Linked DNA regions of Homo sapiens: regions 2, 3, 4, 5, 6 and 7 are each linked to region 1. Evidence: promoter capture Hi-C in 16 types of primary human blood cells and fetal thymus (Javierre and others, 2016). All regions are on one chromosome and are shown on one strand. The core of a region is centred on a gene start or on the middle of the fragment in contact, and the rest is flanking DNA. Distances in the headings are between cores, read along the strand shown. Region 1 holds the start of ZBTB14 (zinc finger and BTB domain containing 14). Region 2 overlaps VAPA (VAMP associated protein A). Region 3 holds the start of YES1 (YES proto-oncogene 1, Src family tyrosine kinase). Region 4 has its middle 16 kb from the start of YES1. Region 5 overlaps PPP4R1-AS1 (PPP4R1 antisense RNA 1). Region 6 holds the start of RALBP1 (ralA binding protein 1). Region 7 holds the start of ANKRD12 (ankyrin repeat domain 12).

What was found. Contacts are between HindIII fragments. The CHiCAGO score rates a contact against its expected background, and 5 or more counts as called.
Region 2: a fragment that was not itself captured here is called in contact with the fragment with the promoter of ZBTB14 in region 1 in 1 of 17 cell types (naive CD4 T cells); the score reaches 5.2 in naive CD4 T cells.
Region 3: a contact is called between the fragment with the promoter of YES1 here and the fragment with the promoter of ZBTB14 in region 1, in 1 of 17 cell types (naive CD8 T cells). The highest score is 6.6, in naive CD8 T cells.
Region 4: a contact is called between a fragment that was not itself captured here and the fragment with the promoter of ZBTB14 in region 1, in 1 of 17 cell types (activated CD4 T cells). The highest score is 5.5, in activated CD4 T cells.
Region 5: a contact is called between a fragment that was not itself captured here and the fragment with the promoter of ZBTB14 in region 1, in 1 of 17 cell types (total CD8 T cells). The highest score is 5.1, in total CD8 T cells.
Region 6: a contact is called between a fragment that was not itself captured here and the fragment with the promoter of ZBTB14 in region 1, in 1 of 17 cell types (non-activated CD4 T cells). The highest score is 5.4, in non-activated CD4 T cells.
Region 7: a contact is called between the fragment with the promoter of ANKRD12 here and the fragment with the promoter of ZBTB14 in region 1, in 4 of 17 cell types (non-activated CD4 T cells, naive CD4 T cells, total CD8 T cells and 1 more). The highest score is 12.6, in non-activated CD4 T cells.

The regions. Positions count from the first base shown.
Region 1 is chr18:5,293,980-5,297,382 of GRCh38, reverse strand. ZBTB14 (zinc finger and BTB domain containing 14) reads left to right here and starts at 1,657. Exons shown (of 4, transcript NM_001243702.2): 1 at 1,657-1,731; 2 at 3,382-3,403. RefSeq lists enhancers at 449-608, 326-1,011, 1,700-2,386, 2,387-3,074 and silencers at 819-1,238, 1,319-2,258. The HindIII fragment of the contact is 2,257 bases long and covers 255-2,511 here.
Region 2 is chr18:9,916,614-9,920,016 of GRCh38, reverse strand. All of the region lies in intron 1 of VAPA (VAMP associated protein A), which reads right to left. Among named protein-coding and RNA genes, the nearest start is that of VAPA, 4.3 kb to the right of the region's middle. The HindIII fragment of the contact is 5,213 bases long and covers 1-3,403 here.
Region 3 is chr18:810,401-813,803 of GRCh38, reverse strand. It overlaps YES1 (YES proto-oncogene 1, Src family tyrosine kinase), which reads left to right and starts at 1,562. Exons shown (of 12, transcript NM_005433.4): 1 at 1,562-1,690. RefSeq lists enhancers at 360-901, 902-1,444 and silencers at 1,176-1,685, 1,736-1,795, 1,866-1,955. The HindIII fragment of the contact is 10,737 bases long and covers 1-3,403 here.
Region 4 is chr18:826,734-830,136 of GRCh38, reverse strand. No RefSeq gene overlaps it. Among named protein-coding and RNA genes, the nearest start is that of YES1, 16 kb to the right of the region's middle. The HindIII fragment of the contact is 4,537 bases long and covers 1-3,403 here.
Region 5 is chr18:9,619,177-9,622,579 of GRCh38, reverse strand. It overlaps PPP4R1-AS1 (PPP4R1 antisense RNA 1), which reads right to left. Exons shown (of 3, transcript NR_110773.1): 3 at 3,217-3,385. Among named protein-coding and RNA genes, the nearest start is that of PPP4R1-AS1, 6.1 kb to the right of the region's middle. The HindIII fragment of the contact is 2,301 bases long and covers 706-3,006 here.
Region 6 is chr18:9,474,404-9,477,806 of GRCh38, reverse strand. It overlaps RALBP1 (ralA binding protein 1), which reads right to left and starts at 2,294. Exons shown (of 10, transcript NM_006788.4): 1 at 2,116-2,294. RefSeq lists enhancers at 1,664-1,723, 1,462-2,330 and a silencer at 1,954-2,363. The HindIII fragment of the contact is 672 bases long and covers 1,255-1,926 here.
Region 7 is chr18:9,135,249-9,138,651 of GRCh38, reverse strand. ANKRD12 (ankyrin repeat domain 12) reads right to left here and starts at 1,871. Exons shown (of 13, transcript NM_015208.5): 1 at 1,687-1,871. NDUFV2-AS1 (NDUFV2 antisense RNA 1) reads left to right here and starts at 1,932. Exons shown (of 3, transcript NR_110772.1): 1 at 1,932-2,288. RefSeq lists silencers at 1,104-1,153, 1,194-1,593, 1,804-2,153, 2,504-2,593, 2,596-2,769 and enhancers at 1,724-1,773, 2,264-2,313. The HindIII fragment of the contact is 1,483 bases long and covers 771-2,253 here.

The DNA of each region.
Region 1 (3,403 bases), core at 408-2,907:
GGTCTCTTCCATCCTATTTCCTCCATATAAGCCGTAACTTGGGTGCTTTTGTGAACATCAAAAAAGATGCGTATAAAGTCGCCTTGGGGAACGTTAAACCAAAGTCAATTAACATTACAAAATCAACTGAGGCCATATAGAACTTCCTTTAGAAAATTAACACATCCAATCATCATATTATTTCCCAAATGTTTACTTAGGTGCCTGTTGCAAGCACTATCTTATGTCATCTTCAATAAGCCCAAGAGGAAGCTTCTGCTCTAATCTTTAGATATTAAATTACGCGTTTCGGGGAAACTTCGCGTGTGAGGTAAAGCAACATGAGCGACTCTAAGGCGGCGCGGCATTGCTGTCCGGCCTCCTGCATCTCGGTGAGCAGAAAACGCGGGAGCGGGAGGGACTTCCCAGCTCCCGACGCCAGACACAGGCACAGCCGCCGCGTCAGAGGGAAGGCGACGTGGTTCAACAGCAACGGAGCCATTACTGGCGCTGAGCAGGGATGTTAAGGACAGAGCCAAGTTATCAGAGCTCTCCGAATCGAGTCCAGGGTCTGGACTGCCACAGACGGGTCGCCGCCTCCAGCCCCTGGACTTTTCCTTGGAGTGTCCGGGCGCGGACCTACTAGCTCCGAAGCCCTATGGGTGATCCCTTTCTGCTGGGCAACTGGGGTTGCGCTTTACACTACAAATCGAAGACGTCGCTTTTTCCATTTGTTCTGCAAGTGTTTATTGTGCACCGTCCACTCCCCCACAAACTCAATGTGCCGGCGGCAAGAGGCAAGACCGCAGACCCGTGGGCGCGCCTCCCGGTGTCGGCCGGTGTGCGCGGAGGGCGAAAGTGGCCGGGGCGCCCGCTCCGAGACGCGGCAGAGCCCCGCAGCCTCAGCGCCCGGCCTGCGCGCGCCCGGGGGAGGCTCTGGCCCACGCACATGCACACGCACGGGAGCGCTGGCTCCCGCGTCCCCGGCGCTGCGCCGGCGCCGGGCGCGGGCGGAAGCCCACGAACCAGGGCGGGAGGGAGCTTGAGGCGGGGCGGGTGTCCGCGAGCAGCGCTCGTGCTTAAGTTCCCTGGCTCCCGAAGCCCCGCCCTTGCCCCGCCCACTCCTTCTCCCGCGCGCGGGCTCCGCGCGCCCCAAGCCGCGCGCGTGCGCGCGCGTGCGCAGGCCAGGGCCCTCCGGGGGCGGCCCCGTAGTCTCCAACGAAAGCGTCGGCAAGGGCCCGGATTAACCCTTTCTTTGCTCGCCCACTTAGAGACCCGGTCGGGTTCCGTGCCTGCGCAAGCCGGCGGCGCGCCTTCCCCCCAGCCCGCACCGCGCATGCACGGGAAGGGGGGGGCGGTGGGGGTGTTCACGGCCGGCTAGACATTCTGTGCTCGTGCAGGAGGAGGGCTGCTACCATCAGGGACGTGCACGATTTCCCCCACCCCGCCCCCTCCCCAAACTCCAAAAAAAAATCCAAAACACACTGCCACCCACCGTGCCCCCGCGCCCCGAGCCCCTCCGGTCCCGGCCTGCGTTTGCTAGCGAGCGCGGGGAACCCACGGCAGTGTCTGTGCCTGTGCCAGGCTGCAGGTAAGCGCGGGCCAGGGTGCGGAAGGGGCTGGGGCCGTCCGCAAGGCGGGCGCGGGGGCGGCCGGCGGCTGGCGGGGCGGCCCGGAAGACGCGCGTTCTCGCCGAGCTCTGGGGCACCAGCCAGCTCCAGGATGTGCGGCGGCCGCCAGCGGCGCGGCGCGGTGCGAGCGGGGACGGGCGTGGGCCAGGGTTGGGCGTGGGGCCGGGGCGCCCCGGGGGCCGCGCGGGCCGGCGAGCGGGCTCGGGGAGCGGCCAGGCGGCGGCGGCCCCGCGCGCGCGCTCGCAGAGCCTCGGCGGCCGAGTTCATGGCCGCCCCCGCTCGCACCGCCGCAGTGCACCGCGGTGGGGGTGGGGACGGCCCGAACCCAGCGCGGAGCGCGGCCCGCCGGGCGCCGCCCCTCCGAGCCGCGGGCCCCGCCGCGCCGCCTACAGCCGCCGGCGGAGGAGGGGGCCGGGACCCAGCGCACGCACTCCCGGGTGCGCCCGCGGAGCTTGGGTTAGCCGGCCGCGCGCCGCCCCCGCCCCCGGCCGCGGGAGGGCGGGGGAGGGCCCGGCGCGAGCTGGCCGGGGAGTGCGCGGGGCGCGAGCTCCGGGCTCGCGGGCGGAGCGGGGCGCGGCGCGGCGCGGGGCTGCGGAGCCGGCCGCACGCCCGCTCCCGCTCGTCGCGCCGCCGGGGCCGCCGCGGGCCGCAGTCCCTCCCTGCGCGCTCCGAGCCGCGGTCCCAAGCCTGCGCTCGACGTCTGATTATGAAAGGGAAAGTGGCCCTTTCACCACCTGGCTCCCAGGCTGGGAGCTTTTGTCTGGGAAGGAGTGCAAACGGCCTCCTCCACTCCCCACCTCCCAGGCCCAAAGAAATTGAGAGGGAGGACTCGATACGCCTTGAGGGCTTCTTGGGTCTGCGCTTGGCTCCCTGCTTCCTCCCGACTCCGAAGTTGCAAGCTTGCAACAAGGAAGTCGTGCAGCCGCCATTGTCGGGCTGCCCGGGGCAGGGGAGGCGGCTGCAGCTGCTTATGTAAGTTTTTGGCTTTGCGGGAAGCCCGGCTCCCTGCACTGTAACGCGGCTTAGCGCGCCCGCAGTTTGGAGAGCAATTAGGAAGGGGCAGCCTTATTATGAAGGTGGTGTTGGGGCTACGTCTTTTCCTACACCTGCCTACACAGATGCTGGCAACAGCTGTCTTCCAGTTTTGACTCACCTGAACTGAGCAATTGGACATCTCAATGGCAAGGGGGGCGGGGCGGGGAGGAGGCGGCTTTGGACACACATGGTCTCTCTTCCAGGTCTCATACATCTTGAGAGAGAGAGGGGAGAGGGGCGAGTGGCCAAGTACACACTAGCCAAAACAACAACAACACATTGATATGTTGTCATAGCTAGTCTAAGGCCACTCCTCTCTCTGGTCCCATGCACTTTTATCCCACAAGCCCTAGGACGAGTTAGTGACAACAGTAGTAAGTGTCACAGTGTAAGGTTTTTGCTGGGCTGCCTAGCCTCTGGATGATTACAGGCCTGGGTGCTTCTAGGGAATAGAGAGGCAGAAACACGTAGAATGATCAAGTCAGAATCATCTTTTGGAAATGTTGCCTAACCTCAAACTTCAGATGAGACATCCCGCTTCTACGCTGGGTAGCTCGGTGTGTTCACTTTTCTTTAGAAGGAGCTTATTATGGGTTTCAAGGTGTTGGTCTCCAGGTTGGAGTCTTGTTCCATGGTTTTTGTGTAAGACTGTTACAGCCCAGTCCTTTGCTCCTACCACACCAAACAACTTATCTGTGTGGTCACTGTTCAGTAGAGGAAACTTTTTGTTTTTCAGGATATGGGTCTGCAGGATGGAG
Region 2 (3,403 bases), core at 400-2,899, 4.6 Mb before region 1:
ATACCCTTTTCTCTCAGTGCACATAGAGACCACCAAGTCTCACAGATTCAACCTAACTTTTCATCACCTCCAATACCATGACCTCAGTCCAAGGGGTCACCACTTGCCAGTACTGCTGCAGCCGCCTAATTCATCTCTTTCTCCCCTCTAGTATAATTTTACATTGCTACCAGAATTATTTTTAAATGCAAATGTGATGTTATTCGATTCCCTCCATCTTTACTGCTCCTCCCCTCACTTAAAAACCCTAGTGGCTCAGGATAAAAACAAAACTCCTAACTTGACCTACTAAACCAGCACTACATTCATCTTGACTATTTTCACCACTGCCACGCCGACCTCTTTCAGTATGGTAAATGTTTCACAGTCCCTCCTGCTACCGGATATTTGAACATGCATTTTCCTTTCTTCTTCACCAGGATAACTTTTACTCATTGTTGGAATCTTAGTTCAACTGTGACAGCCTGATCGAAGACCCTTATTTTACATTCTCGTAGCACTATATAGCTCTTCAGGGGTACACTTTATTCTTCTGATTATTTTATTAGTATCTATCTCTCTTGTTAGAACTGCCCCATGAAAACATGGCTTGTGTTTCACTCACAACTGTAGTTCCAATATTTATTCATCATACCTGACATGTAGCAGATACTCAAATCTAATCAAATTAGATCCATAATTGAATGAATTTTAAAAATAAATGAATTTGGAAGTAGAAACACATTGAAGTGGACAAAGGGATTATGTCAAAAATAGAAACACAGATTTTAATTATTAGATATGCATATTGTTTCTGGTGTGAGTAATCATGATGCCACTAAAAAATAAAAATAAAGCCAAGTGCAATGGCTCAGGCCTGTAATCCCAGCACTTTAGGAGGCCAAGGCAGGAGGATCACGCAAGGTCAGGAGTTCGAGATCAGCCTGGGCAACACAGCGGCACCCCCATATGTACGTAAAAAATTAGCTGGGCATGGTAGCATGCACCTATAGTCCTAGCTATTCAGGAGGATCACTTGAGCCCAGGAGGTCACGGCTGCAGTGAGCCAAGAACGTGCATGCCACTGCACTCCAGGTTGAGCAACTGAGCAAGACCCCATCTCAAAAATAAAAATAAAAAATATGGGAAGAAGAGTAGGCATGGGTAGTAAAAATTTTGAGATATTTTGAGTTTAGAATATCATATCTGTGCAATATTCAAATCTAAATAGTGAATAAGTTGTTTGAGTATGTGCTCTTGACTGACGGTAAAATGTGAATTAAAACAGACTTGGGGGTGTAGCAATACCTGCAGAGAGCAAGGAAGATAAAGAGAAAACCTCAAAACAATGAAATGAACAAAGAAAGTTCACAGAGTGAGATAAATGAAACCAAATCAGAATCTCAGAAACATGAGCATTTGAGGAAAATGCCACAAATAAGACAATAAATGGAGCAAATAAGAAAATTAGAAGACAATGCTGTTATAGAAGCCAGAAGAATTGAGGGTTTTTTTTAGAGAAACTGTCGGTACTGTCAAGAGCCAGGGGGAGGTCAAGTAAGATAAAAACTGGAAATGATTAAGTTAGCAATAAGTAGTGAGAGGATAAAAGTACCGTGGACTAAGGAGAGAATAAAAGGTGAGTAACTGGAAAAACAGTGAATATGGACTATTTTTCCAAAAAGTCTGAATGCAAAGGAAATGAAGGACAGGGAGAGACACATACTAGAAAGAGTTATGGTCAAAGAAGTACATGTCTGCTCATTTGTTTTTAAAATCAAAGACTCTGGTGTATTTATATGTTAAAACAATGCAGCCAGTGATTGAAAACCAGCAGGAAAACATCTCATGGAACATGGTCTGAGTCATAAGGAATTTTACCTTAGCCAGCAAAAATAGAGGAACAAAGAACCTTGGGTATGAGCAGGGTTTTTCTTTCTCAGGGAAGAAAGTATGGATGTGTACAGACTAACAGGTGTTACAAGAGGAAGGCACATCATGGAAGAGATGGTATGTCTTACTGAAAAAAAAAAATCTGACTTTTATTCTGTGAGCAATTGAGAGTTACCTAAAAACTAAGGAATGGAGTAATATATGATTAAAGATTACATTCATGTCTTTAGAGCCCCAGGCGTTTTGTATAGCCACTGGGAAACATGAAGAGCCGACTGGAAACACCTAAAAATGTGCTAAATATCCATCCAGAGGAGTATTCTCTAATTTCCCCCCCGCCCCGTGCTGCTTCTATGCAGATGCACTAGCTGATGTTAACACCATACGTCCCTCGATCCCTCAGAGAGCTTAATTTTCTTTGTTGATTTATTGTTATCGGCCACTCTCAACATAAGGATTTTGGTTTATTTTCGTCTCTCTCTGATCATTAAGAATATATTTGAAATTTATTTTAGCATTTTATAAACTTTCTTCTTCAAACTTTTCTACAAAACTGCTAATAGGGGTCAGGTGCGGTGGCTCACGCCTGTAATCCCAGCACTTTGGGAGGCCAAGGCAGGCGGATCACCTGAGGTCAGAAGTTCGAGGCCAGCCTGGCAAAATCCCGTCTCTACAAAAAATTCAAAATTAGCTGGGCATGGTAGTGCATGCCTGTAGTTCCAGCTACTCTGGAGACTGAGGCAGGAGAATTGCTTGAACCCGGGAGGCAGAGACTGCAATGAGCCGAGATCGAGCCACTGCAACAGAGCAAGACTCCGTCTCAAAAAATAAAAAAATTTAAAAAAACTGCTAATAGGTAGAAAAATAAAATGTGTAATACATTATAAATGGAATTTTATCATGTAAAAAATTTTAAAGACAAAAAAAATCTTTCACATAAAATACCAAGTTTCAAATCTGAAATCTAGGTAAAATTACTTCCAAGGTTTAAACAGAATTTGAAGTAAAGCAGCGTCTACTTCTTTTTCTTTACTAACACAAGTGATCTACTTCAGAATTCATTACATCGTAAATGCACTTTTATATGTTAACGACTGTATAAAACAAACTTTTTTTTAAATACTGAGGTATACAGAAAAATGTACTGAAATAGTTGGTGTCTGCTTTTGCAAAATTGTGCAACATACTGTTAATTCATCTTCAAGATGCTTGTTAGGTGTATAAAAGAAAAACCATCCAATCTCAGAATGATTACCTGAGTCACTCCTGGAGAAACCATCTCAAACTCAGAATCAATAACTAAAATAAACCTACTAGAAGATGACAAAGAATTTTGCAAAACTGTCTTCTAAAAGTCCTTCACTTAGAAAGTTTTGAATGACTTAGGGTAAGTCAGTTAAATGATTTTTTTCTATCATAAACTAAGCCCAAGTAGACTGTACATTCTAAATGAATCTCCTCAGTGTTGAACTGTGCATTTAAATACACAAAGGTTTCCATCAAAGCCAACAATTTACCTTTGACTAAAACG
Region 3 (3,403 bases), core at 313-2,812, 4.5 Mb after region 1:
GTTTAGGAAGACGAAATTATCTCTATTTAGTGAAGAAAGGCAACAGCTCAAGGAATTTTCTATTTTAATAAAAGCTGAATATAGACCTACATAAAATTTTAAAGCCCTGAGACAGTCAATGACAAATGAAGTTTTAGTAGCTAAGAAAATACAGCATCGTTCCACATTATGTGTCTCTTTAACGCCTACGCCTACCTTTCGTTCATTTAGTGAGCTGAAGAAAAAAATGTTCAAACCCTTATATGCATTTCCTTAAGTTCCTAGAATACCGGAATACTGACACATATGATTGCACTATTTCCTATCCGTCGAAGATGATTCTGAATTTCACTAAAAACCGCAAAGGAAACCAATAGTCACAAAATAATTCTGATAACCCCACCAAAGAGGAAATAAAGAGAGGAAGTTACTCTAAAAGTCTGATAGGGCAAAAGTGACTGCAGCAGAAGGGCCTCAAGGTTCAGTCCATGAGGACCTTGATTAACCTTCATCTTTACGCCCCCACCCCATCCTTCCGGGTCCTCCCCCTTCTTCAACGACTGGCTTTACAAGGCTCATAGGAAAGGTGCGTGTATTCAGACGGACACGATTCCAGCTGTGGCTCCTCCACTTTCAGGGTCGCTGTTTCCACAGTTGACAAGCAGGAGAACCATACTTGTTGCACTTCCCTCACTGGGCTGCCGCCAGCATCATATAGAAAAACGCTGTCCCAACATAAGCCAAAGCCACCATGACTGGGATAGTCGCCAAACAGAACTCAGCTTCGGTTCCCCTCCCGGCAAGGCTGGTTCGACCTACAGTCAACAGGAAGCTCCTGGGGGCAGGGACAGGATCCCTGCCTCGGAAGGAGGCAAGACGTGAACGTTTTTTGGACGGCGATCAGGATGGTGATGAGGGTGTGAGTAACGCCCCCGGCTCACGCGGTTGGGCTTGAGATTTTACTACCAACGACAAAGGGTGCGGAAGCGTAGCGCTGAGAAGCAAACAGCCAACCAAAAAAACTCAACCCCGTCCTCCCCCACAAAAGCAAGCCCCAAAGCCCTGGCCACTACTGAGAGCTGGGCCAAGGAACAGAGAAAGGCAGAGGGGCAGAATCGGAGCGCTCCATTCAATCTCCGCGGCAGCCGAGCGTCGGTGGGTTCGCGGGTGGGAAGGGACGCCGCGGGCCTGCTCTCCGGGCAGGGAAGCACCTCCTCCTCACGCCCCCTCGGCCTGCACCGCCCCCGGGAATCCGCCCCGGACCCCGCCGCCATGTTGGGTCGGGAGAAGTGACACGGACCGGTCGCCTATCCTGACCACAGCAAAGCGGCCCGGAGCCCGCGGAGGGGACCTGACGGGGGCGTAGGCGCCGGAAGGCTGGGGGCCCCGGAGCCGGGCCGGCGTGGCCCGAGTTCCGGTGAGCGGACGGCGGCGCGCGCAGGTACCCGCAGCCCCCGCCCCCGCTAGAAGTCAGGGGGCGGGGCCGGGGGGGGGGGGCGGAGGAGGTGGAGAGTGAGGCCGAGGCGTGGGGAGCCCGGGAACTCCCTCCTCCTGAAGTAACGCGTCCCGGGCCGGCTCTGCCGTCGTTGCTGCCGCCGGGCGCCCCGGGACGAGGAGGTGGAGGAGGGAGAGGGCCCGCGGGCCTCGCCTCCGCCCTCCGCCACCTCGAGCTGCGGTAGCAGCGACTCATGAGAGCGCGGCCGGAGGACAGGTAAGGACCCGGTGGGGCCCCGCGGGCGGAGGGTTCCACCTCTGCCCGGACAGGGCTAGGCCCCAGCGCCCGGAGCCGCCGCCGCCGCCGCCGCCGCGGTTCCCCGCCCCCGCGGGCCCGAGTCGGGAAGTTGGGAAGAAACTTCTCCCCTCCCCCGGATCGCCCGGCGGGCTTGTCTCGTTCCCCGCGCTACCTGCTCGCCCCTGACTCGGTCTCTGCCCTGTCCAGACCTGCCGGGTCCCGCCCAAGTCCGACCTGAGGTTCCAGGGGCGTGGGGACACTCCCCACCCCTTGTCTTTGGGGTCGTGTGGACCGCCCGGCGACGGGGAGGAGAGGTTTATTTTTGCCCCTACGGCCGAAGTAGGGGCGAGGGAAGCGGCCCCTTTGGGTCCTAAAGGCTGGGGGTCTGTGTATCGGCCGACGCCGGTAGCAGCTGTGCGGGGAGAGGAGCGGGTGTGTGGGGCGAGTGGATGAGCCTTTCTGGCTTTACTTGGTTTGATTGAAAACCGCAACATGTTTAAAGTTTTCCTTTGTTTTGGGTTGGGGGTTGGGAAATTTACCATTCAGCGTCCACTTTTACGGAATCATGCCACTCCGCCTCCCGTTGCGTTCGGTTCCCTGTCCACATGTGTTAAAGAAAATTGTCTTAAAGTGTGTTTTTCTTCTTGATAATTGCTTCCAGCTTTCACTTTATTGGGCATGGGGCAGAGCTGTTTTAAGAAGCTCTTTGAAAATCAAGTCTGGTGTAGGGACTTTAGTTTTTGTTTTGTAATGAGTAGGACTTAACAGTTCGGATTTGGTTGAATCATTTTCTGCATAATTAATTGATACAGGCGTGGAATAACATACTGTATAATTATAAATTACTAAAGGAAATAATGAAAGTCTTTGGTGGAAGCACAATTTTATGTCCATTTATTATGTATATACGTTCCACGGGTGTGTGTTTTCACAGTCGATTTCACATGATATGATTATAGTATCTTCATGTATTATAACTGTAAGATTACAGTGCCAAAGATACCTTGATAATTTTAAATATTTAAACCATCCTGTTACACTTCTAAAGTTAAATTACGCACTAAGGAAAGTATTACTAAATGTATACACGTGACTGTGCATTTAAGGAAAAGTGCATGGTAAATCTAATATCTTAACTATCACAGTGCTTGGCACACGGTGGACAGGAAGCATTTTGAATGGTCAGGTAATAAAGGAGTATCTTGTATTAGCCAAGGATCTTGTATGCATCACTTACGATGTTCATATATTGTACAGTAAGAAAGTTTTACTTTAGCAAATAATATATATGGTTTTTTGGTTTTTGTTTGTTTGCTTATAAGTGTGAGACCCCTGCCACAATTGACATGTAAGGAAAGGAAGTTAAATTGTATTTTTATTTTTGGACATTAGCTAAAAGTCGGTGGAGATTTTAAATGCTGGTTGACAATTCAGAGGGTCCTACATTTGAAAAAGACAATTGCCTTTGATCTGAAAACAAAACAGTTTATATCCATGTTTCCAGGATAAAAGATAAAAGGGCTCTTAAAATATATACTCTGTTGTAACCACTGTAATGTTATAATGGCTTTAATTTCGTAGTTAGGTTTTGCTGACTTCATAAACCACAAAATTGATTCCTTTCTGTTCATCTGAAAGTGAAATTACAGCTTTGACCTGTCTTCCTGGGTTAGGTGGAATTTGTCTTGTGGT
Region 4 (3,403 bases), core at 442-2,941, 4.5 Mb after region 1:
AGCTGCTCTGGCCAGCTTAAAAAAAGACAATCTTTAAGATCAAAATTGCCAGGAAGCCATTTAAGTTGGGGCTTTTGGAAACCAACTAGAACTTACTCTCCCTTAGAACCTGAAGGAATGAGTAGCAGGAGAAAATTATACAATGATACAAAATAACTATACCATTCGGGATAGTAGATTTGGGATAATTCTAATCATTTCATCACCTTGAGACAGGGTCTTGCTCTGTCACCCAGGCTGGAGTGCAGTGGTAGAATCACAGCTCACTGCAGCTTCAACCTCTCGGGCTCACGCGAGCCTCTCACCTCAGCCTCCCAAGCAGCTGGGACTACAGTCATGTACCACCACACCCTGCTAATTCTTTTTCTTGCCCAAGCTGGTCTCAAACTCTTGAGCTCAAGCAGTCCGCCTGCCTCGGCCTCCCAAAGTGCTGCAAGTACAGGCTTGAGCCACCTCGTTTGGCCTCTAGCTCAGTAATTAATCTGACACTTGGTGACTGGCATACTGGTTTGCATTTCTCATTCCTCAGTTTCCTCGCCTGTAAAATGGGGGTAGTGACATCTACCTATTCATCTTTTAAGATTGTTATACGGATCAAATGTGATAATAAAATAATTTGAAAAATATAAAGTATTATTTGGCATAACGTAATATTATATTTGTGCCACTGAAATCTAAATATGTCATGATGCAAACATACTGTATATTTTATTGATTGAGTCAACCATCATGTCTTGTTTAGTTGTTCATAGAAACTATTTTAGAATGAAAGGTTAAAAAGGCAACATAATTAAGAAACACAAAGGAAAAGAAGACATTTGACTTCTGCTATTATAACTTCTCCAAAGTTTCATTTCAAATCAAATAAACATTTTTGCATAAATAAAACTTAGTTGTTCTTAAACTTTGTATATTAAAAATATACAGATTTTCGGCCAGGCGTGGTGGCTGATGTCTGTAATCCCAGCACTTTGGGAGGCTGAGGCGGGTGGATCACCTGGGATCAGGAGTTCGAGATCAGCCTGATCAACATGGAGAAACCCCATCTCTACTAAAAACACCAAATTAGTCAGGCGTGGTGGTGCATGCCTGTAATACCAGCTACTCGGGAGTCTGAGACAGGAGAATCGCTTGAAGCCGGGAGGTGGAGGTTGCGGTGAGCCTAGATCACGCCATTGCATTCCAGCCTGGGCAACAGAGCCAGACTTCGTCTCAAAAAAAAAAAAAATATATATATATATATAATATATATATACACACACACACAGATTTTCTTATAGGGCTACAGAATTTAGATACATAACTTATGTTTTTCTCAGAGACAACAATACTAAATATTCTTTTTTTTTTTTTTTTTTTTTTTTTGAGACGGAGTCTCGCTCTGTCGCCCAGGCCGGACTGCGGACTGCAGTGGCGCAATCTCGGCTCACTGCAAGCTCCGCCTCCCGGGTTCACGCCATTCTCCTGCCTCAGCCTCCCCAGTAGCTGGGACTACAGGCGCCCGCCATCGCGCCCGGCTAATTTTTTGTATTTTTAGTAGAGACGGGGTTTCACCGTGTTAGCCAGGATGGTCTCGATCTCCTGACCTCATGATCCACCCGCCTCGGCCTCCCAAAGTGCTGGGACTACAGGCGTGAGCCACCGCGCCCGGCCCTAAATATTCTTAAAATTTTTATCACATGCTTACTACATACCAGGCACTATACTAGGAATTGAAGACAGGAATGTAAATGAGGCTGGGCGTGGTGGCTCATGCCTGTAATCCCAACACTTTGGGAGGCCAAGGCCTGAAGATCACTTGAGCCCAGGAGTCTAAGACCAGCCTGGGCAACATGGAGAAACCACTCCTCTACAAAAAAAAAAAAAAAAAAAAAAATATATATATATATATATACACACACACACATATATATCCATATATATATGTATATATATACATATATATATATATATATATACGTATATATATATATATAAAAATTAGCCAGGCATGGTGGCACGCGCCTGTAGTTCCAGCTGTTCAGGAGGCTGAGGTGAGAAGATTGCTTGAGCCTGGGAGGTCGAGGCTGCAGTGAGTCGAGATCACACCACTGCACTCCAGCCTGGATGACAGAGACCCTGCCTCAAAAAAAAGAGAAAACAGAAATGTAAGTGAATGGTTTCTGCAATGCAGGAGTATCACAACTCAATATTTGGAAAGACTATTTATCTGATAAAATCAAAGAAGTAGTAGTGGTATGCCGTATTTATTAAATGCATTAATATTTCCTATTAGCCAGGTGCGGTGACTCACGCCTGTAATCCCAGCACTTTGGGAGGCCAAGGTGGGCAGATCACCTGAGGTCAGGATTTCAAGACCAGCGTGGCCAACATGGTGAAACCCCATCTCTACCAAAAACACAAAATTAGCCAGGGGTGGTGGCACGTGCTGGTAATCTCAGCTACTCGGGAGTCTGAGGCAGGAGACTTGCTTGAACCCGGGAGGCAGAGGTTGCAGTGAGGTCAGGCAACTGCACTCAAGCCTGGGTGAAAAAACGAGTCAAAAAAAAAAAAAAAAGAGGGAGACAGAGAGAGAGAGAGAGAGAAGGAAGGAAGGAAGGAAGGAGGGAGGGAGGGAGGGAAGGAAGGAAGGAAAGAAAAGAAAGAGACAGAAAGAGAGAGAGAGAGACGAAAGAAAGAAAGAAAGAAAGAAAGAGAAAGAAAGAAAGAAAGAAAGAAAAAGAAAGAAAGAAAGAAATCTTCCCGACTGCCTTCAGTGTGAGACACTGGCTTTTTCCCTGACTTCATTGGCTTCCTGGTTTTCAGGCCTTCAAACTCTGCCTGGACCTACCCTACCTGCTCTCCTGGGTCTATAGCTGTTGACTCACCCTACAGATGCTGGGACTTCTCAGCTGCCATAATCATGTGAACCAATTCCTTCTCATAAGTGTCTTTCTATGTATATTACATCCTACTGGTTCTGTTACTCTGTAGAAGGTAATGTTCACCCGAGAAAATTTCCAAAAAGCAACGGAGAATGAAGAAATAAGGATTCTGTAACATTTCATCATTCATGTCTGAATAGAGTAAAAACAAATGGTTGAGGCCCGGCATCGTGGCTCACGCCTGTAATCCCAGCACTTTGGGAGGCTGAGGTGGGCAGATCATGAGGTCAGGAGTTCGAGACCAGCCTGATCAATATGGTGAAACCCTGTTTCTACTAAAAATACAAAAATTAGCTGGGTGTGGTGGCACATGCCTGTAATCCCAGCTACTCAGGAGGCTGAGGCAGGAGAATCGCTTGAACCTGGGAGGCAGAGGTTGCAGTGAGCCAAGATCGCGCCATTGCACTCCAGCCTGGGCGACGGAGTGAGACTCTGTCTCAAAAAAAAACACAAATGGTTGATTACAGTCATAATACTAT
Region 5 (3,403 bases), core at 607-3,106, 4.3 Mb before region 1:
AGTCTATAATTTATATCTCAATAAAGCTATTTAAAGTTTTGGGGTTTTTTGTTTTTTTTTGTTGTTGTTGTTGTTTTAAACGGAGTTTTGCTCTTTTTGCCCAGGCTGGAGTGCAATGGCACAATCTCGGCTCACTGCAACCTCTGCCTCCCAGGTTCAAGAGATTCTCCTGCCTCAGCCTCCCAAGTAGCTGAGATTACAGGCATGTGCCACCACACCTGGCTAATTTTTTATTATTATTTAGTAGAGACAGGGTTTCACCATGTTGGTCAGGATGGTCTCAAGCTCCTGACCTTAGGTGATCCACCCTCCTCAGCCTCCCAAAGTGCTGGGATTACAGGCATGAGCCACCACGCCCGGCTAAACTTTTTTTTCTTTTTTCCCCCCAAGACGGAGTCTCCCACTGTCGCCCAGGCTGGAGTGCAGTGGCGCGATCTTGGCTCACTGCAAGCTTCGCCTCCCAGATTAATGCCATTCTCCTGCCTCAGCCTCCCGAGTAGCTGGGACTACAGGCGCCCGCCATCACGCCCGGCTAATTTTTTGCATTTTTAGTAGAGACGGGGTTTCACCATGTTAGCCAGGGTGGTTTCAATCTCCTGACCTCGTGATCCGCCCACCTCAGCCTCCCAAAGTGCTGGGATTACAGGCGTGAGCCACCGCGCCCGGCCTAGGCTAAACTTTTTTAAATATAGGACTTTGAAAGCTTTAAAAAATAGGTAAACATAAACTGTTTGGGGGTATTATCTCTAAATTTTTGGAGATTTTAGTTTTTTCTTTATACTTTTCTGGGCACTCCAAAAACATGTATTTTTGTAATTGGAAAATTCAGAAAAGAATAAATGTTACAAAGATGTAGAATTCCGGCCGGCCATGGTGGTTCACACCTGTAATCCCAGCTCTTTGGGAGGCCAAAGTGGGAGGATTGCTTGAACCCAGCAGTTCAAGACTAGCCTGGGCAACAAAGTGAGACCGCATCTCAAAAAAAAAAAAATATGTAGAATTCCACCCCTCCCAACACCTGCCACATACCTACAAGCAGCAGCAACAACAAAACCTCCTAAAAAACCAAGAACATCGTTTGAGGGAGAAGTGAGTTGGCACCTGAGTTCAAGATTGTCTACCTGGATGATTTGTCCGAATAATGAAATGGTGGCAAACTGCAGCCATTCAAGCCAAGGGCAGCTGGTGAGAGGACACTGTTAAGGCACTTGCTTGGGAATTTCACAGAATTGTGATGAACAAAATATTATATGAGAAAGATAATTTTTGTATACTTGGCCAGAATAATTGAAACAGGCTAGTTAAAAAGTTATTAGTATGGTTTTGAAGTGGTTAATATCTTGGTCAGGATATTGAGTGAGAAACGGAGTGAAGAGGTGACTCCTAAAATGTTTCAATGACAAAATCCTCAGGGAACAGTGATAACTTAGATGGAATTAGAGATTATACCAAGACCATACATGTTGAAAGACTAGAAGTTCTCTTAATGCGAAAGAAGTTGACGAAGGACCATTTTGACAGAAAAGCTATGAATGTGAGGATACGCAAACGCTATTGCCATTATTTAGAATCAGGATTCCAGTGTTTGAATACTAATTCCCCTATTTGCTTGCTTGCTTGCTTTCTTTCTTTTCTTTTTTTTTTTTTTTTTTGAGACAGTCTCACTCTGTCACCCAGGCCAGAGTGCAGTGGTGTGATCTCGGCTCACTGCAAACTCCACCTCCTGGGTTCAAGAGATTCTAATGCCTCAGCCTCCCGAGTAGCTGGGATTACAGGCATGTGCCACCACACCCAGCTAACTTTTGTATTTTTAGTAGAGACAGGGTTTCACCATGTTGGCCAGGCTGGTCTCGAACCCCTGGCCTCAAATGATCCACCCACCTCGGCCTCCCAAAGTGCTGGGATTACAGGTGTGAGCCACTGTGCCAGGTCATTTGCTTTTTGATCTTTGTCAAAATACCCAACCTTTCTGAGCTTCGATTTCCTTTATTTTTAAAATGGTAATATCAATTTCTACTTCACAGGGCTGTTTTAAATAATCAGAAAGCACATAAAAGTGCTTAACAGGCTGGACGCGGTGGCTCACACCTGTAATCCCACCACTTTGGGGGGCCGAGGCAGGTGGATCACTTGAGGTCAGGAGTTTGAGACCAGCCTGGCCAACATGGTGAAACCCCGTCTGTACAAAAAAAAAAAAAAAATATATATATATATATACAAAAATTAGCTGAGTATGGTGGTGGGCGCCTGTAGTCCCAGCTACTCAGGAGGCTGAGACAGGAGAATCGCTTGTACCCGGGAGGCGGAGGTTGCAGCAAGCTGAGATTGCAGCAAGCTGAGATTGTGCAACTGCACTCCAGCCTGGGTGATGGAGCGAGATTCCATCTCAGAAAAAAAAAAAAAAAAGAAAAAAAGAAAAAAAAAGAAAAAGCGCTTAACATGATGCCTGGCACACGCTCTGAAAAATGTTTCATATATACGGTAATATTACCATTGGGGGAACTGATGTGAAAGTGACATAGGACATCCTGGCACATCATTTGAAACTTCATGTAAATCTGTAATTGTTTCTAAATAAAAAGTTAGAAAATGTATTAGCTATCTAGTCTGGGAATTATATTGTGTCATTGTGCTAATATTTTTCCCACCAAAGGAAGGAACCAAGGACCAGAGACACAAGCAATTTGTTACAAACAGTTACAGAGAAGTGAAATGAGAATGGAAGTAATTTCTTCTGAATCATATTACCATAGAGCAGCCTTAGTGTGAAGGGAGCTTAGAGTCAGGGCAGTTAACCACTGAACTTATCTGGGTTTGAATATGTGGTTTGCTATGGTTTATTTCCTGGTTCAACTTGACTCATCCATTCAGATTCAGAATAATAAACATTTAAACATTTAAAATAATAAGCATCTAAAATGATAAGCATTTCCTCCACACGTACTCTGTGCCAGGCATTGTGGAAGCCTCTCCCATATTGCTTTGAATGGGATTGCAACTAAAGCTTTCTAAATTCTAAGAGAAAGGCACAAAGGAAATTTACTACTGCCACTCTAATCCATTTAGTGCTCACTGTTTAAACATCTTTGTTTTCTCTTAATGAAATTAAAATGTGTGGAACAAATTGTGTAGGATGTAGTACCTCATCAGTGGGGAATTCTTTTGCCTCTACTAACCTGGAGCACTGGGAAAAGCACGGGAGTAGGGAACATAGTGGATAAGAAAAAGAGGGTTTATTTTCCTTTATACTCAGTTTACAGTAGTGATTCCAGCAGGATGCACTATTTTGTTCAGAAAAAGCTGATGCTAAGAAACTTGGAGCTGTGGCTGACGACCTTGGGACAGAGCTGAAGTTCTGTTGCATTCTCGGGGCAGTGTTCAGCTCCTGTAAATGTAGAAAGAA
Region 6 (3,403 bases), core at 341-2,840, 4.2 Mb before region 1:
GATTTTCATCACCTTCTACATAGTTTTTCCTTACAGTTTCCCTCTTCTTCAGCTCTTTTCTTCACTTTAAGAAACTGACCACTATCTCCTTTGTACATCCACTGTACCCGCATATGTTCTTCAATCAAAACAATCTTGTACTTGTTGACAGTTAAAGTAAGAGATAAGGTTCAACTACCCTGAAGGCAGGAACACTGCCTTCTGTATCTTTAAGTCCTCTTCACCTGGTCACAGTACTTTCTACATAGTAATTCCTGTATTCTAAATAATCTGCATTTTTCCTTGTACCCTCTTATACAAACTAACATAAGTTTCTATCAGGGATCTTTCAAAACAGAAACAATATTCTTTTGGGTTACATGCTGGGCCCGATCTCTTCTTGCCAAGCAAACAACTATGCAAATATAACTGTACAAATTAAAGTTATTATGCACTTTCTGATACCACTTTCCTATTCTAAATTAGGGGAGAAATAGTCTGGATAAGATCCATAATTAGAAACAATATCCTGAAGAGAAAGCAAACTAAGTTGTATTACATTGTTTCGAGATACCTTGTTTAAAGAGTCACTTCTCAAAAGCTACTACTGTTGGCAGGGCGCGGTGGCACACGCCTGTAATCCCAGCGCTTTGGGAGGCCTAGGCGGGCAGATCACCTGAGGTCGGGAGTTCAAGACCAGCCTGACCAACATGGAGAAAATGTCTCTACTAAAAATATAAAATTAGCCGGGCGTGATGGCGCATGCCTGTAATCCCCTCAGGAGGCTGAGGCAGCAGAATCGTTTGAACCCAGGAGGCAGAGGCTGTGGTGAGCTGAGATCATGCCATTGCACTCCAACCTGGGCAACAAGAGCGAAACTCTGTCTCAAAAAATAAAAAACTAAAAAAAAAAAAAAAAAGCTACTGTTAACTAACCTACCCCACTTGGATCTACCAGATACTTTGAATGAGAGGTGGAAACCACTCTACTGACCTCCTTCCTACCCCTACTACCGCCACTCCAGCTTACAGTAATTATTTTCACAAAGACAGAAAGGAGTTATCAAATGACCACAATAACTCTAAAAACAGAAAGTGAGGTGATCTTTCTTATTCACAGTCCCACTTATTCATTTAGAAATGCTGAGCACCAAAACAAAACCTTATCACAAGTTCAGTATTTCGTTAATAACTGCCAAGTATAATGGAATACTCCCCAAAGTACTGCAGCATTAGAACATGACCACTCCACTAAATTAAAAATTCAGCGAAAGCTTTTCTAACAAGGCTGGATGGAGCACTAACTCAACGGCCAAACGGCTGCACTTCCTGTATATGCACGTTCAAAACACCTCGAATTAACATGCTAGGGACCTTGAAGAATTGTACTAGGCCTTGCTCAAGAGGAAGGCTTTGTAATACTGAATCCCAAAACTTGAAACAGCAGAATTACTTCAGGGAAGACGGAGGTGTTAAATATTCTGTAAAACCTGTTTCACTCTCACAACGATCAGTTTTAAAAAAAAGAGGGAGAACACTGACCTCATTAAGAGCATTCTGACAACACACATAGTTGAACATGAGTTGTGAAAAGAATTTTCAACTTCAGATCTGTCTGTCCATTCCCACTGAAACCTGAAGGAAGGATCGCAGCACCCAAAGGCGCCCACTGCTCAGTGCCAGCGGTGGGCGACACCAGGAGCCTGTCCTGGTCCCCTGGGTAAGCCCTGGAGCCTGGCCACTATGCCGGGCACGATCCACCAACCGTGAGGGCTGGGTCCCCTAGCCTCTGTCCAGGCGCCCCCCAAGAGCTTCCCCGAGGCCTGGGGACTCCTAACTCTCCACCCCCGGCCCCCGAGAGCACCACAAACGAGGACGCCACGAAGGGAGGCCCGTCGGCCAGTGGGAGGGACGCACGGCCAAGGGGGGCGAAAACTGGGGCGAAGCTTTCCGGGGAGGAACCCACGCCAGGGGCAGCCACGCCCCCCACCCCCAACTTCAAACCCGAGCGCTGCGAGCACCGAGCCCCACACGCTGCCTGACAGACGCGGGCGCGAGGCCGGCGCGGGAGAGGGTTCCTCGGGCACTCCAGGGGTATCGCCGCGACCCTAGCACGCGACCGCTCCCTGCGACTGACCTGTGCCTGCCGCCGCGCGACCGTCCGCCCCGCCGCAGCCTCCGCCTCCTCGCGCTCACGCTGCCGCCGCAGCCACCGGAGCCGCCTCCTGCGCTGCGCCCCAGGCCGGCCTCGGGCGCCCCATTCCCACCCCGCCCAGCCTCTGCCTGTTTACAATGATTGGGACGGAACGGGACGAGGCGGTCCAGCGCGCACGCGCATTCCCTCCTCCCGCCGCAGCCGGCTTCCCGGATCCTCCTCTCCGCTCAGACGGCTGAAGCCGTCAAGGGCAGGCGACCTGGGCTCTCGCGCGGGGCGCGCTGGGAGGCGTAGTTCCCAAGGCCCCGGCGTCCAGCCAGCCCGAAGGCCTCTCGCCAAGGAAGCAAACTACAACACCCAGGAGGCACCGCGCCCCCTTCGTCCCCAGGCTCGCTGAGGAGACTGAAGAAGAGCGCGAGAGAACGCGCCGAGGGCCAGTGCTCTGCAGGCGCCTGCGCAGTCGGTGGCCTTGCGGGTTTCGGGGACGGACGGCTTACCCCGGTGTGGTGCTGGCGAAGGTGGCTCGCGGGCATCTCCTGCAACGGCCTTGAGGATGGAAAGGGCTTTCCTCTCCACGCTCTGGCCAGCCTGCGCCTCAGCTCCCGAAGTTGAGAGCTTTCCTTGCGCCAGCGTGCTTTAGTCGTTCCAACCAGTTAAACCAGACTGGGGGCCGCCCGGCTGGCCGCTGGGTGGGGCGGCTGCCCCGCCTTCGACTGGGTGTGGGATTGGAGGAAAGAGCGCCGTGGGCCTGTAGGGATAGGCGGGAATAAACCTCTGTCGGGAACATCCACGGAATTCCTGAAGCGGGTGTGGGCTTCTGCAGGGCTTCAGCGCGCCCCCGGCTCAGCAGTTACCGAGCAGCCCCCGAGGAAAGCTGCCCAGTCCGTGTTTGGCTGGCAGTAGAGATAACTGAATTTCTTCGAGAAGCCTTTCACCCAGGCTTGTTGAGTTGCTCTGCTAATGCGTAGCGAAGGCTGGAAACGGCTTCAGCAGTCTTCGTGTTTTCTGAAATGTGGCAGTTTATTAGGGGAGAGGAGGGACTTGGAATAGACGACCCTACCTGTCACTCGCATTCCTACGTGCAGCACTCTGTGGCACTTCGTTGCCCGTTTAGATTGGCCGCTGCTATCCATCTTGCTCTCTGCTCCCACATCAGCTTTCCTCAAAGCGGGCGGTAAATTTGTCCCTAGTACTCTGCGCTCCCTACTCAGTAAAGTTCAACCCCTGGGGCCTTAGATTCATTCAGGGGCCTCCCACGAGTGGATACGGG
Region 7 (3,403 bases), core at 622-3,121, 3.8 Mb before region 1:
TCTGCCAGTTCTGAGCTAATCTCCAGGAAAGGCTTTGTATAACGATTAAAGAAACTCAGATCAGTGCCCAAGATTTTTAACGGCCTACTTGAGCATATGTTTTTTTGTTTGTTTGTTTGTTTGTTTTGGTATGTTTTTGCGACGGAGTTTCGCTCTTGTGGCCCAGGCTGGAGTGCAGTGGCACGATCTCGGCTCACTGCAACCTCTGCCGCCCGGGTTCAAGCGATTCCCCTGCCTCGGCTTCCCAAGTAGCTGGGATTACAGACATGCGCCACCACGCCTGGCTAATTTTGTATATTTAGTAGAGACGGGGGTTTCACTATATTGGTCAGGCTGGTCTCGAACTCCTGACCTCAGGTGATCTACCCACGTCGGCCTCCCAAAGTGCTGGGATTATAGGCATGAGCCACCGCGCCCGGCTGTGCATATGTTTTTAATACACAGTTAATTTACGATAAAATAGCTATTTCACTAGCCTTTCTTTATAATTTACATAAACCATTCTAAAATGAAAACGAAATACATGACTGCAGATGCAGGCTCATTTCAACTTTAGGATTAGAGGTAATTCCGAACCATTACATACACAGCACTGGATCTGCAACACACTTCACCTTAGTTCGCAGTTTAACCACGGGTGTCCAGTGGAAATTACAATCCCGGTGACTACACTGCTTTAAATGTTTCCTAAGGTTTCAACGAGTGCAACAGTAACTTCCTATCCCAGACAGCGTCTTACTGTTATTACTAAAACAGCTGTCAGCTAAGCTTCGCATACCTCTTTGTACAACCGTTTATTCAACGCTTTGGGATCTGTAAGGATGCGTCACTCCACATCACTCCTCAAAACGAGATCTAAGAACCTGACGTGCTCCAGGGGTCTTGAAGCATCACAAGTGGGTACTTGAAAAACGATGACGGGAACTGCCTGTCCAATGCGGCAAGGTTATTTTACACTGGCATTTAAGACAGAACTGTAGAGTGGCTGCTCTTTCCCCGGACACTACTAAAGCAGCAATTTCCCCTTCTTGATTTCATCCACCTCTCCCAGGACCCGGGTACCTCCGACGCTCCCGGCCCGAGCGGCCGCGGCAGACTCCCCGGCGTCGGCGCACGCTCGGCGGCTGGCGGCGGGAACGCGCGGCGGGCCGGGCGCGCCCCCGCCCCCGCGGGTCCGACCGCCGCACGCCAGCGGCGCCCTCTCGGCCGCGCACACTCACACTCGCACGCACACGCTCCTCCGGCCCCGCCATGTTCCGGGAGGCGGCGGCAGCCCAGCCCCGCCAGCCGCGGTGAGGGGCGCCCGCGACGAGGCCAGCTCGCGGCCCTCCGCCCGGCCCCCGCCCCGCCCCGCGCAGCGCCCCCGCCCAGTTGGCGGCTCCCACCTGCGCCGCGGCTCCTCGCGACGCCGGGAGGGGCGGCGGCGGGCGGGGCCCCGGCGGACCCGCGCCGGGGGGCACTAACGGCCTGTCACTGTCAGGCGAGCTACGGCTCGGGCCAGGCTGGGCGGGCGGCGCGTCGGGACCGGGGGGGGCGGGCAGGGCGCGTCCCCTACCTTGCTCTGGGGAGGGGGAACGGGAGCAGCGCAGAACTGAGGGGATCTCCTCCCTGGCGCCGGGGACAAGCTCGAAACCGCGCCCCTCCTTCCTCCTTTCCTGTCGCCACGCCCCCCTCACCCGTACGGACCCGAGGCAAGGCCGGCGCAGGAGGCTTCACCCCCGGAACGAGTGCTTCGGCGTAGCCGTCGCTGTCGTTGTCTTCGTCGCCGCTGCAGCCGCCTGTAAAGCCGCCGGAGCCGGGCTTGAAAACATCTCCGGTCTCGGTCCGTCTCTCACCACAGCCTCCTCGCTCCCAGGACAGCGTCGCCCCGCGATTGGCTGCGACGCGAGCACGTGACACCCGCGGACACGTGACTACCGCGGGCACGGGACGGGCGGCGTGACCGCCCCGCCCCCCGGCGCCCGCCCCTCCTGCTGCTCAGCCAGGCTCCGCGAGCCGCAGGGCGGGGAAGCGGGACGTACCAAGCGGCAGGCGGCGGAGGGGTGCGGGCCGGAACTCCGCCCTTCGTGCTGGTCGGTCTCCACGCCCCACTCGGACTAGTGTCACCGCCTCCCCGCCGCAGACACTATCCGACAAAGGAGGGGGAATCAAAGGCTGGGCGAAGAGGCAGGGCAGGCGCCGGTGACGCTGCTGGGCAAGCGGGCTCTGCAGTAGCATTTGTGGCGACCGTGGCAGTGGCTGTGACTGGAAGCTTCTGGAAATGGCGGCGATGAGGACCCCCACATAGGGTATTCACCTGTTATTTTTACACGGGGTGGGTGGACGAGCGTGATCCAACTCAGGCAAAATGACGCTGCGACCGCAGCCCGAGGACTAGGCGAAGTTCCCCCGCTAAGCCGGCGGCGGCCGTCTGGCCCCGCACCAGGCCGGAGAAGCTGCACCTACGCCCAGAGCCCGCGGCCCCCCGCCTCAGGTGGGGCCCTGGGCCCCGCCCCGAAAGCGCGGTAGCGTGCACCTGCCCTGGCACCAGGGGGTCTAGAGCGCGTCCCCTCCCAGCCACGCCTTCCAGTGGCCTTTTTAAAGAGGAATTCAGTGCACCCTCCCACACGTAGTGTTGGGGATTTGAGAGGGAGCTGCTCAGGTACTAGGAAGGGTGCCGGAGGAAAATTGACCGTCGCAGCGTGGCAGCAGCGTGTACTCACTCCCTTCTGGGCGCGTTATTTACGTAGAGGTTAATCTGCAACAACAGCGTCTGTTTATGACTTAGTGCATGCAGTTACAAGTTTATGTTACACTGTCCTTTAACGTCTTGATGAACTGAGGGTTCAGGTGTGATCACAGCAGATGAAGTGACATTCAGACCTGACAGGGACGGCGAGGTCCCATCAAATTACTATGTAAAGCATAAACCTGCATTAAAGATCAGGAGTTTTTCCTTTCCTGGGTTCCTGATTTCTCCCACCTACAAATCTTTAGGGTCAACAAGACTAGAAAAAGAGCACCTTATGGCTAGAGGTGGAATAGTGTTACATTTAACTTGGTTATTTATGATGTGAAATACAAAGAAAAAAACAGTCGCCTATGAGAAAGTCAGGAGAGCTCCAGGGTAGGACATTTTCATTGTTACTTTTTTGTGCCACTTGGAAAATTAACTGTTGTTTACCTTCTCTCAATTAAAAAAAAAATCTTAAAGACATACTTAAAAATAATCGTTATAGCCGAGCGCAGTGGCTCACGCCTGTAATCCCAGCAATTTGGGAGGCTCAGGCGGGCAGATGGCTTGAGCCCAGGAGTTTGAGACCAGCCAGGCAACATAGTAAGACCCTGTCTCTAAAAAAATATATGAAAATTAACCAGGCTGGTGGCGCCTGCCTGTGCTCCCAGCTGCTCAGGAGGCTGAGGC